4 separate regions of the Homo sapiens genome follow, and regions 2, 3 and 4 are each linked to region 1. Evidence: promoter capture Hi-C in human tissues and cell types (Jung and others, 2019). All regions are on one chromosome and are shown on one strand. The core of a region is centred on a gene start or on the middle of the fragment in contact, and the rest is flanking DNA. Distances in the headings are between cores, read along the strand shown.

Evidence for each region. The method cuts DNA at HindIII sites, captures the fragments that hold promoters and counts their contacts. A contact is called where the count stands out against the background at its distance.
Region 2: the fragment with the promoter of HTT here is called in contact with the fragment with the promoter of RNF4 in region 1 in 1 of the 25 tissues and cell types used here (spleen).
Region 3: a contact is called between a fragment that was not itself captured here and the fragment with the promoter of RNF4 in region 1, in 2 of the 25 tissues and cell types used here (dorsolateral prefrontal cortex and mesenchymal stem cells).
Region 4: a contact is called between a fragment that was not itself captured here and the fragment with the promoter of RNF4 in region 1, in 1 of the 25 tissues and cell types used here (lymphoblastoid cells).

What each region holds. Positions count from the first base shown.
Region 1 is chr4:2,467,712-2,470,411 of GRCh38, forward strand. It overlaps RNF4 (ring finger protein 4), which reads left to right and starts at 1,395. Exons shown (of 8, transcript NM_002938.5): 1 at 1,395-1,547. LOC107986250 (a long non-coding RNA gene) reads right to left here and starts at 1,240. Exons shown (of 2, transcript XR_001741551.3): 1 at 689-1,240. RefSeq lists a silencer at 938-1,107 and enhancers at 1,258-1,617, 1,301-1,873, 1,918-2,037. The HindIII fragment of the contact is 20,287 bases long and covers 1-2,700 here.
Region 2 is chr4:3,073,426-3,076,125 of GRCh38, forward strand. It overlaps HTT (huntingtin), which reads left to right and starts at 1,256. Exons shown (of 67, transcript NM_001388492.1): 1 at 1,256-1,663. The coding sequence starts at 1,401. It also overlaps HTT-AS. RefSeq lists silencers at 312-931, 1,082-1,521, 1,632-1,701 and enhancers at 1,862-2,091, 2,102-2,151. The HindIII fragment of the contact is 13,196 bases long and covers 1-2,700 here.
Region 3 is chr4:2,992,707-2,995,406 of GRCh38, forward strand. All of the region lies in intron 4 of GRK4 (G protein-coupled receptor kinase 4), which reads left to right. Among named protein-coding and RNA genes, the nearest start is that of GRK4, 30 kb to the left of the region's middle. The HindIII fragment of the contact is 3,591 bases long and covers 1-2,700 here.
Region 4 is chr4:3,051,231-3,053,994 of GRCh38, forward strand. It overlaps HTT-AS. Among named protein-coding and RNA genes, the nearest start is that of HTT, 22 kb to the right of the region's middle. The HindIII fragment of the contact is 3,017 bases long and covers 1-2,759 here.

The DNA of each region.
Region 1 (2,700 bases), core at 145-2,644:
ACTTAGATATTTTACATGAGAATTACATTTATCTATCAGATACTCTACCATGCCAGATTTCCTTACAATTACGAAAAATAGCAAACACATATTGTTTGTAAATGCAACACAAAAACGTTAATGCTCTGGTTTCTATCTGCCTTGTCATTCCGTTATTTGACTCCATTTTCGAGGTTAGAAACTCACTGTAAGGTGGCCGGGCGAGGTGGCTCACACCAGTAATCCCAGCACTTTTGGAGGCCAAGGAGGGTGGATCACCTGAGGTCAGGAGCTCGAGACCAGCCTGGCCAACATGATGGAACTCCATCTCTACTAAAAATACAAAGAAAATTAGCCGGGCGTGGTGGCAGGCGCCTGTAATCCCAGCTATTCGGGAGGCTGAGGCAGGAGAATCACGTGAACCCAGGAGGTTAGAGCTTGCAGTGAGCCGAGATCGCGCCACTAAAACAAACAAACTCACTGTAAGGAAACAATGTAACCCAAGGCATTTGGGGTGACCTTCACGTTGCCTGAGGGTGCCGAGGGACCAGAGATGCTGGCCATGGACTAAGGTCTGGGTATTCTCAGGCAGCAGGGACAAGGTGGGCTTTTTTCCTGGTTGCTAAACCCACGTCAAAGTCGAGCTCAGGGACTGGAGCTCAAGAAACCCACCGCCCATTCTCCAGTCCGACCGGGGACCTGCATGCACCTCTGCCGTGCTGCCCTGAGTCCTCCAATCCTCCACACTCTTCCTCTGTTATGTACACGTCTCCACCCAGGCCTGCAAAAGTCCCAGCTTCCTCGCAGGGGCAGGGACCCGCACGCCGGCCCAGGGCTTGGCACGCGGGGATGCTGAAACAGGGCCAGGCCTGGTTTCCAGCCGATCGTCAGAGTCCCAAGGCCCAGCAACCTTCCTCACAAAGGCCTCGTTAAGAGGCGAGGAAACAAGAGCCGGGAGAGGGGCGCGGAACGGCGGGCGGGACGAACGACCAGCTCCGCGCCTCCGGCCAGCTGCGTCGAGCCAGGGGCACCGCGGCTGTTGTGCGGCTGGAAATCTAGGAATGGGAAGGTTCGGGGCCTGCTCGGCTCCGGAGGCAGCTGGCGGGTCGTCCCTGGCGGCGTTGGAGCGGTCAGTGGCAGCCGGGCACGGGCGACCGGGTCGCCCGGGTCGCCCTCAGACCGTGACTCCCGAAAAACCTTGCGGGCGGGGCGCGCCCGCGCCGTCTCTTGCCGGAAGGTGCGAGTTAGTGCGCTCGATTGTGGGCGGGGGCGGAAAGAGGCGCGTTTTAAAGTGGTAACAGATGGTTTTCTTATCCAATAGGATTAAAAAATTTGTCCTTACCCGGCCGACCGCGGAAGTAGAGTAGGCGGGCGGCCAATGGGGACATGATGGGGGGCGGAGCCGAGGCCTCCGAAGCGGAAGTGGGTTGCTGTTGAGGCGGCGGCATCTTTCTCGAGGAGCTCTCCTGGGCGGCTGAAGAAGGAGCTTCTTCTCCGGAGTGCGCCGGCGGTGGCGCCTGCGGACCTAACTAGCTCCAGGTTAGGCCGAGCTTTGCGGGAAAGCAGCGGTAAGTCAGGGCCTTGCAGATGCGAGGTTTAGGCAGCTTCGCGGCCTACAGAGGCCTCGGCCCGCGCCTCTTGGGGGAGCCGCGCTGCGCGGCTTGACCCAGCCGAGGCTTTGCAGCCCGGGACCTCGAGCCAGCTCTGGTCGCTCGCACTGCCGTCCGCGCGGGCGCACCGAGCCCGGCTTGGCGCGGGCAACAGAAGTTAGGAGGTCTGCGTCTGGGTCTCGGCTCACCCTGGGGGGCCGCGGCCATGGGGCTTAGTTCCTAGCCTAGGAAGGGAAACTGAGACTCTGGGAGGGGCAGGAACGCCCCCAAGGTCACTTGGAAAGTCGGGCAGGATGTGCTGTTAGGGGGAAGACCCGGGCAGGGTTTTTGTTCCCCGCTGACGACGCCTCCTTTGTGTGTTCGCGCCGCCGCCCCGCCATCGTGGGGCCTGCGAGTTTGCCGGGGTGCGTGGGCCGCGTGGCGGGGCCTTTTGTAGGTCGGGAGGATCTGAGTACGGGTGCGGGCCTGACCGTGGGGGCGCCGAGGTCGCAGTCTAAAACTTAGTAGGGCCTCGATTTCCGGGCGCGCTTCCGGGCCCCGGCTGGTGGTTGGTGGAACGTGCGACTGTGAGGCTTGCGGCCCAGCCCTGCACCGCTCGGGCCCTTCACCGCTCTGGCGCGCCTATAGACAGGTGTATGAAGATTCTCACGACCCGAAACAGAGTTGCTAGTAAACACCGCTTTTCCGCCTTTGATCCATCGAGGGAAGAGGGAAAAGGATAGAGCTTGGGCAAGCCGTTTTGGTAGGGATTTCAGCTTTTGTCTTTCACTTGTCAGTTCCCATAGACGTTCACAAACTTAATAATCTTCGTTCTGTTTCTGCACCAAGTTCTTGAGCCAGACGTAGGGTCTCAGCTCTGGAGCCTGGCTTAGACTGTCCAACTGACTGGGGAGACTGAGGTCCAGAAAAGTGAAGTGGTCTGCCCAAGGTCACATAGCCAGCTATTTGGCAGCAGATGAGGTTAAGTCCTACCTGCAAGATTTGGGTTTTGAATTCATTGACCAGGAGTTTTGGGACCACTGTCAATAAAAGAGACATTGAAGGGAATCTTTTGTTACTTTCTTGGTGATTTGCTTTTTAATGGACAAGGACATATTGGGTTCAGTTTTAT
Region 2 (2,700 bases), core at 6-2,505, 610 kb after region 1:
CAGACCTCTGCTGAGCTGCTGCTGAATGACGCCCCTTGGGGGTCCTGCCGGAAGGTCAGAGCAGGGGTGCACTCCCATAAAGAAACGCCCCCAGGTCGGGACTCATTCCTGTGGGCGGCATCTTGTGGCCATAGCTGCTTCTCGCTGCACTAATCACAGTGCCTCTGTGGGCAGCAGGCGCTGACCACCCAGGCCTGCCCCAGACCCTCTCCTCCCTTCCGGGGCGCTGCGCTGGGACCGATGGGGGGCGCCAGGCCTGTGGACACCGCCCTGCAGGGGCCTCTCCAGCTCACTGGGGGTGGGGTGGGGGTCACACTTGGGGTCCTCAGGTCGTGCCGACCACGCGCATTCTCTGCGCTCTGCGCAGGAGCTCGCCCACCCTCTCCCCGTGCAGAGAGCCCCGCAGCTGGCTCCCCGCAGGGCTGTCCGGGTGAGTATGGCTCTGGCCACGGGCCAGTGTGGCGGGAGGGCAAACCCCAAGGCCACCTCGGCTCAGAGTCCACGGCCGGCTGTCGCCCCGCTCCAGGCGTCGGCGGGGGATCCTTTCCGCATGGGCCTGCGCCCGCGCTCGGCGCCCCCTCCACGGCCCCGCCCCGTCCATGGCCCCGTCCTTCATGGGCGAGCCCCTCCATGGCCCTGCCCCTCCGCGCCCCACCCCTCCCTCGCCCCACCTCTCACCTTCCTGCCCCGCCCCCAGCCTCCCCACCCCTCACCGGCCAGTCCCCTCCCCTATCCCGCTCCGCCCCTCAGCCGCCCCGCCCCTCAGCCGGCCTGCCTAATGTCCCCGTCCCCAGCATCGCCCCGCCCCGCCCCCGTCTCGCCCCGCCCCTCAGGCGGCCTCCCTGCTGTGCCCCGCCCCGGCCTCGCCACGCCCCTACCTCACCACGCCCCCCGCATCGCCACGCCCCCCGCATCGCCACGCCTCCCTTACCATGCAGTCCCGCCCCGTCCCTTCCTCGTCCCGCCTCGCCGCGACACTTCACACACAGCTTCGCCTCACCCCATTACAGTCTCACCACGCCCCGTCCCCTCTCCGTTGAGCCCCGCGCCTTCGCCCGGGTGGGGCGCTGCGCTGTCAGCGGCCTTGCTGTGTGAGGCAGAACCTGCGGGGGCAGGGGCGGGCTGGTTCCCTGGCCAGCCATTGGCAGAGTCCGCAGGCTAGGGCTGTCAATCATGCTGGCCGGCGTGGCCCCGCCTCCGCCGGCGCGGCCCCGCCTCCGCCGGCGCAGCGTCTGGGACGCAAGGCGCCGTGGGGGCTGCCGGGACGGGTCCAAGATGGACGGCCGCTCAGGTTCTGCTTTTACCTGCGGCCCAGAGCCCCATTCATTGCCCCGGTGCTGAGCGGCGCCGCGAGTCGGCCCGAGGCCTCCGGGGACTGCCGTGCCGGGCGGGAGACCGCCATGGCGACCCTGGAAAAGCTGATGAAGGCCTTCGAGTCCCTCAAGTCCTTCCAGCAGCAGCAGCAGCAGCAGCAGCAGCAGCAGCAGCAGCAGCAGCAGCAGCAGCAGCAACAGCCGCCACCGCCGCCGCCGCCGCCGCCGCCTCCTCAGCTTCCTCAGCCGCCGCCGCAGGCACAGCCGCTGCTGCCTCAGCCGCAGCCGCCCCCGCCGCCGCCCCCGCCGCCACCCGGCCCGGCTGTGGCTGAGGAGCCGCTGCACCGACCGTGAGTTTGGGCCCGCTGCAGCTCCCTGTCCCGGCGGGTCCCAGGCTACGGCGGGGATGGCGGTAACCCTGCAGCCTGCGGGCCGGCGACACGAACCCCCGGCCCCGCAGAGACAGAGTGACCCAGCAACCCAGAGCCCATGAGGGACACCCGCCCCCTCCTGGGGCGAGGCCTTCCCCCACTTCAGCCCCGCTCCCTCACTTGGGTCTTCCCTTGTCCTCTCGCGAGGGGAGGCAGAGCCTTGTTGGGGCCTGTCCTGAATTCACCGAGGGGAGTCACGGCCTCAGCCCTCTCGCCCTTCGCAGGATGCGAAGAGTTGGGGCGAGAACTTGTTTCTTTTTATTTGCGAGAAACCAGGGCGGGGGTTCTTTTAACTGCGTTGTGAAGAGAACTTGGAGGAGCCGAGATTTGCTCAGTGCCACTTCCCTCTTCTAGTCTGAGAGGGAAGAGGGCTGGGGGCGCGGGACACTTCGAGAGGAGGCGGGGTTTGGAGCTGGAGAGATGTGGGGGCAGTGGATGACATAATGCTTTTAGGACGCCTCGGCGGGAGTGGCGGGGCAGGGGGGGGGCGGGGAGTGAGGGCGCGTCCAATGGGAGATTTCTTTTCCTAGTGGCACTTAAAACAGCCTGAGATTTGAGGCTCTTCCTACATTGTCAGGACATTTCATTTAGTTCATGATCACGGTGGTAGTAACACGATTTTAAGCACCACCTAAGAGATCTGCTCATCTAAGCCTAAGTTGGTCTGCAGGCGTTTGAATGAGTTGTGGTTGCCAAGTAAAGTGGTGAACTTACGTGGTGATTAATGAAATTATCTTAAATATTAGGAAGAGTTGATTGAAGTTTTTTGCCTATGTGTGTTGGGAATAAAACCAACACGTTGCTGATGGGGAGGTTAATTGCCGAGGGATGAATGAGGTGTACATTTTACCAGTATTCCAGTCAGGCTTGCCAGAATACGGGGGGTCCGCAGACTCCGTGGGCATCTCAGATGTGCCAGTGAAAGGGTTTCTGTTTGCTTCATTGCTGACAGCTTG
Region 3 (2,700 bases), core at 52-2,551, 520 kb after region 1:
ACAGTGTTTCATGCCTGTAATCTCAGCACTTTGGGAGGCCGAGGCAGGCAGATCGCTTGAGCTCAGGAGTTCAAAACCAACCTGGGCAATATGGCAAAACCGCATTGCTACAAAAAAGAAAAAAAAAATTAGCTAAGCATGGTGGCGTGCACCTGTGTTCTCAGCTACTTGGGAGGCTCAGGTGGGAGGACTGCTTGAGCCCAGGAGGTCAAGGCTGCAGTGAGCTGGGATCATACTGCTATGCTCTAGCCTGGACAAGAGAGTAAGACCCTGTCTCAAAACTACCTCCCAACATCAATTAATTAATCTTTAAAAAGCTTGAATTTATTATAAATGTTCCTCTTTTGCATTTTGTTTGATGTCATGAGGAAACTAACAATTAGATCTCTTAGAAAATTGATTCAGTGTATTTAAAGTTTCAGAATATAGAGTTGGAGAATTTTATTTGTCTCTCTTGGACTAAAAATAACATTTTTTCCTAAAAGCTTTAATGGGTCTTAGCTTTTATGCTTTTGACTTACTTGGTTCTTGTAGTTCAGTATGTCACTGAAATTAGAGCTGTAACCTGCTTCCTTTCATGTGACTTCTGTTAGAAGTCCTCAATTCTGGGCAGGGCCCTATATTGTAAGGATGGAAGGAGAAAAGGAACAACAGGGATAGCAAACATGTAATTAACACTGCTCTAGGCCAGGTGTGGTGGCTCACGCCTGTAACCCCAGCACTTTGGGAGGCTGAGGCGGGTAGATCACTTGAGGTCAAGAATTCGACACAGGCCTGGCCAATATGGTGAAACCCTGTCTCTACTAAAAATACAAAAATTAGCCAGGCGTGGTGGTGCATGCCTGTAATCCCAGCTAATAGGGAGGCTGAAGCATGAGAATCACTTGAACCTGGGAGGTAAAGGTGGCAGTGAGCTGAGATCGTGCCACAGCACTCTAGCCTGGTCAACAAGCGAGACTCTGTCTCAAAACAAAACAAACAAAAAAACACAAAAAAATCACTGCTCTAACATGTAATACATTATGTAATTATCACAACAAACCTATGAGGTAGATACTATTCTCAAGTCTATTTTCATATGATAAGACTGAAAATCAGTGACTAAGTGACTTACCCAAGGTTACACACCTAGTAAGTGTCAGAACCAGGAATCGAACATGTGGAGAATGGAATTAGTGAATAGTGTGGTGAGAATGAGTTCAAAATATTTGGATTTGAAACATAGCCAACTGGATATAGGGCCATCATCTTAGGGGAGCTTCGTTGTACAAAAAATAGAGTGCCAGAGGGGATGGCCAGCAGGACCATCTAGCAGCACAAAGATACATAGCAGTGGGTGTCAGAGGTGTGATTCAGACCCTAATGAGTTTTCTACCCCAGCCTCCAGCCTTACAGATTACTCTCTCAAACACAGCTGTTACAACATGAGCATATTTGTAGGTACCCCCAGGACACTAGTTAGAATGAGTAGAAGTTTCATTTATCTAGTTCTAATTTTTATTTTTATTTTTTTCCCTTTTTTGAGATAGCACCTTGCTCTGTTGTGCAGGTTGGAGTGCAGTGGCACGATCTTGGCTCACTGCAGCCTCTGCCTCCCGGGTTCAAGTGATTCACATGCCTCAGCCACCTGGGTAGCTTGGATTACAGGTGTGCACCACCACACTTGGCTACTTTTTATATTTTTAGTACAGACGGGGTTTTGCCATATTGGCCAGGCTAGTCTCGAACTCCTGGCCTCAAGTGATCTGCCTGCCTCGGCCTCCCAAATTGTGGGGATTACAGGCGTGAACCACTACACCCGGCTCCATTTATCTAGTTATTATTCTTTTTAAATTAGCTCCCTTTTCTTTCTTCACCTCTTCTGAAGAAATACCCATATAGCAAGGGAGGGCATCAAGAAGAAAGAAATAATTATAAAGAAAAACAAAAGAAAAAATTTAAAAATGAATCATGGTAGATATAGCAAATGTGGAAGAGGAGGGAAGGGGAGGTTATACATGTGTGGCTTGGTGCCTTAGTCTGTTTTGTGCTGCTGTAATAGAATGCCAGAGACTGGGTAATTTATGTATTTATTTATTTTAACTTCTATTTTAAGTTCGGGGGTACATGTGCAGGTTTGTTACGTAGGTAAACTTGCATCATGGGGTTTGTTGTACAGATTATTTCATCACCCAGGTATTAAGCTTAGCACCCTTTAGTTATTTTTCTTGATCTGCTCCTTCCCCACATCCCCCATCCTCCAATAGGCCCCATTGTGTGGTGTTTCCCTCTGTGTGTCCATGTGTCCTCATCATTTAGCTCCCACTCTTAAGTAAGAATATGTGGTATTTGGTTTTCTGTTCCTGTGTTAGTTTGCTAAGGATAATGGCCTCCAGCTCCATCCATGTTCTTGCAAAGAACATGATCGTTCTCTTTTTTACGGCTGCATAGTATTCCATAGTGTATATGTACCCCATTTTCTTTATCCGGTTTATCATTGATGGGCATTTAGGTTGATTCCATGTGTTTGCTATTGCAAATAGTGTTGCAATGAACATATGCGTGCATGGAGACTGGGTAATTTATAATAAAAAGAAATTTCTTGGCTCACAGTTTTAGAGGCTAGGATGCCCAGTTCAAGGTGTTGTTGACCTAAAATGAAGAAGCTGAGACACAAAATGTAATTTAAAGAGTTTACTTGGACCAGGTGCTGTGGCTCAC
Region 4 (2,764 bases), core at 1-2,500, 580 kb after region 1:
AATTTTGTATTTTTAGTAGAGACGGGGTTTCTCCACGTTGGTCAGGCTGGTCTCGAACTCCCGACCTCAGGTGATCCACCTGCCTTGGCCCCCCAAAGTGCTGGGATTATAGGTGTGAGCCACCGCGCCTGGCCTTTTGCCAGTTTGATATTTGGTGCCCCCATGCAGCCAGTTGGGTGGCAACTTGCTGCTCAAATTTAAAAGTTGAGAGGCTTTTGCCTGTGGTTCAATGAAACAAAAAAAGATCATTTTCCTTTATGATGTGGCTTGGCCCTCAGGGATATGATGTGGAGAGCTGGGTCACTAGGGCTACTCAGGGAAAGGGAATCCAGAAGCCTGGCACACAGCAAAAGGGTAAGAATTTCTTACCAGTCAGATTTCTGACCTCTCTCTCTCTGTGTGTTCAAACTGGTTGAATGAATTAAAAAAAAAAAAATCACTGCTTATCTCCTCTGTAAAGTTTTGATTAATGGAAAAAAGGATTTGTGAGGCTAATCTCAGGCTGTAGTGAATCTCGTAGGCTTTATGTGTCTTCCCGTGCTGTTCTGTGATAAAAAGGGGCGCCTTAGGATAGAACATGGGCTTAAAACCCCATAAGCTTGCTCGCCGCTCAAGATGGCCCAACAAGCTGGTCAGTAACTGCTGCAGATCCCTGAAACAAACAAAAAAACTAGATGAGGTCTCCATCTTGTTTTAAGTCTTTGGGAGTTTGACCTTGTAACCATGTGGCGGTTACTTGGTCTCCACCTTCCAAGTGGAACAGGAATTTTGGGTTCATGTCATAGTTAGCTCTACAATCTATCTTGAGTAGTTACGAGGCTTTGCCAGCTGAAAATTAACTACTCTAGACTCTTTCTGGGAAGGGCAATGGAGACTGCCCAGTGCTATAGTTCAGTGGTGATCTGGGTTTGATTCCTGGCTTAGGGAATGAGTACTTTCTAATTGATATTTGGGTAACCTTTGCCATTTTTTGATTTTCTCCCCCTCCACAAACTGTCTTGAATTGCCTTTCTCAGAGCACCTGGGAGGTTACTTTCAATAGTTTAAAGGCAGGAATATTGGCTGTTTGGCCTGATGAAAGTTGGGTAATAAGCAATTTAAAAGAACTTTTATTAAAGAGTGCAATGGTTAAAAGTCAGCTTAATTAAAAGTAGATATTCTGGCTCTAACAGCCTGGGACTCCTTGGGAAAACAGGAGGTGCCAGAGACCCCGTTTTGGGAAAAAACTCTGTTTTACTCATGAAACCCCAGAAATTGGAAGTAGATAGATTCCTTTCAAAATCTAAGGCTCTGTTCTGTTTTGCATTGGATTATCTACTGTTTTTTACTTGGGGGTATCAGAAATTACTTCACATAGAGACTTGGTGTGTAATAACTAGGCAGGAAATATACTTTAGGGATGTCTAATGGCAGTTATGGGGCTGACTCCCTCTTTTTTGGGGGGGATCCAGGATCTGGTATAAAAACGAGACCTCAGGCTGGGCATGGTGGCTCACGCCTGTAATCCTAGCACTTTGAGAGGCCGAGGTGGGTGGATTGCCTGAGCTCAGGAGTTCGAGACCAGCCTGGGCAACATGGTGAAACCCCACCTCTACTAAAATAAAAATAAAAAAAAATTAGCCGGGCATGGCGGCATGCGCCTATAGTCCCAGCTATTTGGGAGGCTGAGGCAGAAGAATCGCTTTAACCCAGGAGGCGGAGGTTGCAGTGAACTGAGATGGTGCCACTGCACTCCAGCCTGGTGACAGAGCAAGACTCCGTCTCAAAAAAAAAAAAGAGACCCTTAATTTTTGGAGATCCGTTTTGCCTTCCAGCTGTGCCTGCTTATTATATTAGGCCCTAGAAACTGCATGCTTTCCTGGTCCTGTTCTTCCAAGGACTCCATCCTAAAGCCAGTAATCCAATTTAGAAACTTAGAAAGTGGTAAATGAAAAATCTTACAACTATTGGATCTTCTTCTGTCTGTCTGTGTAGTTATATATGTGTTGTGTGTTTAATGTTTATATAAAAGAGCTCTAATTGCCAGGCACATTGGCTCACGCCTATAATCCCAACACTTTGGGAGGCTGAGGTGGGTGGATCGCCTGAGGTCAGGAGTTCGAGACCAGCCTGGCCAACCAGGCGAAACCCCGTCTCCACTAAAAATACAAAAATTAGCCAGGTGTGGTGGCGCATGCTGGTAATCCCAGCTACTCAGGAGGCTGAGGCAGGAGAATCACTTGAACTCAGGAGGTGGAGGTTGCCCTGAGCCAAGATTGTGCCACTGCACCCAAGTCTGGATGACAGAGTGAGACTCTGTCTCAAAATAAAAATAAAAATAAAAATAAATAAAAGAGCTCTAATTAATTGGCTTTAAGAAAAATGAGTGCTTAAATCAAATATTTTGAAAGAAAAATAAAAACTCTAATGCCTTTTAGTGCATGTAACTTCAGTAATCTTTGGGAAATAAAAAGTTTTAAAGGTTACTGGTGAAAATAAAGACATTTGGCCTAAATTAGGCAGGTTAGATATTAGGTTTGCTAACTTCTTTTTTTTTTTTTTTTTTGAGATGGAGTTTCACTCTTGTTGCCCAGGCTGGAGTCCAATGGCGTGATCTAGGCTCACTACAACGTCTGCCTCTCGGGGTTCAAGCAATTCTCCTGCCTCAGCCTCCCGAGTAGCTTGGATTATAGGCATATGCCACCATGCCCAGCTAATTTTTGTATTTTTAGTAGAGATGAGGTTTCACCATGTTGGCCAGGCTGGTCTTGAACTCCTGACCTCA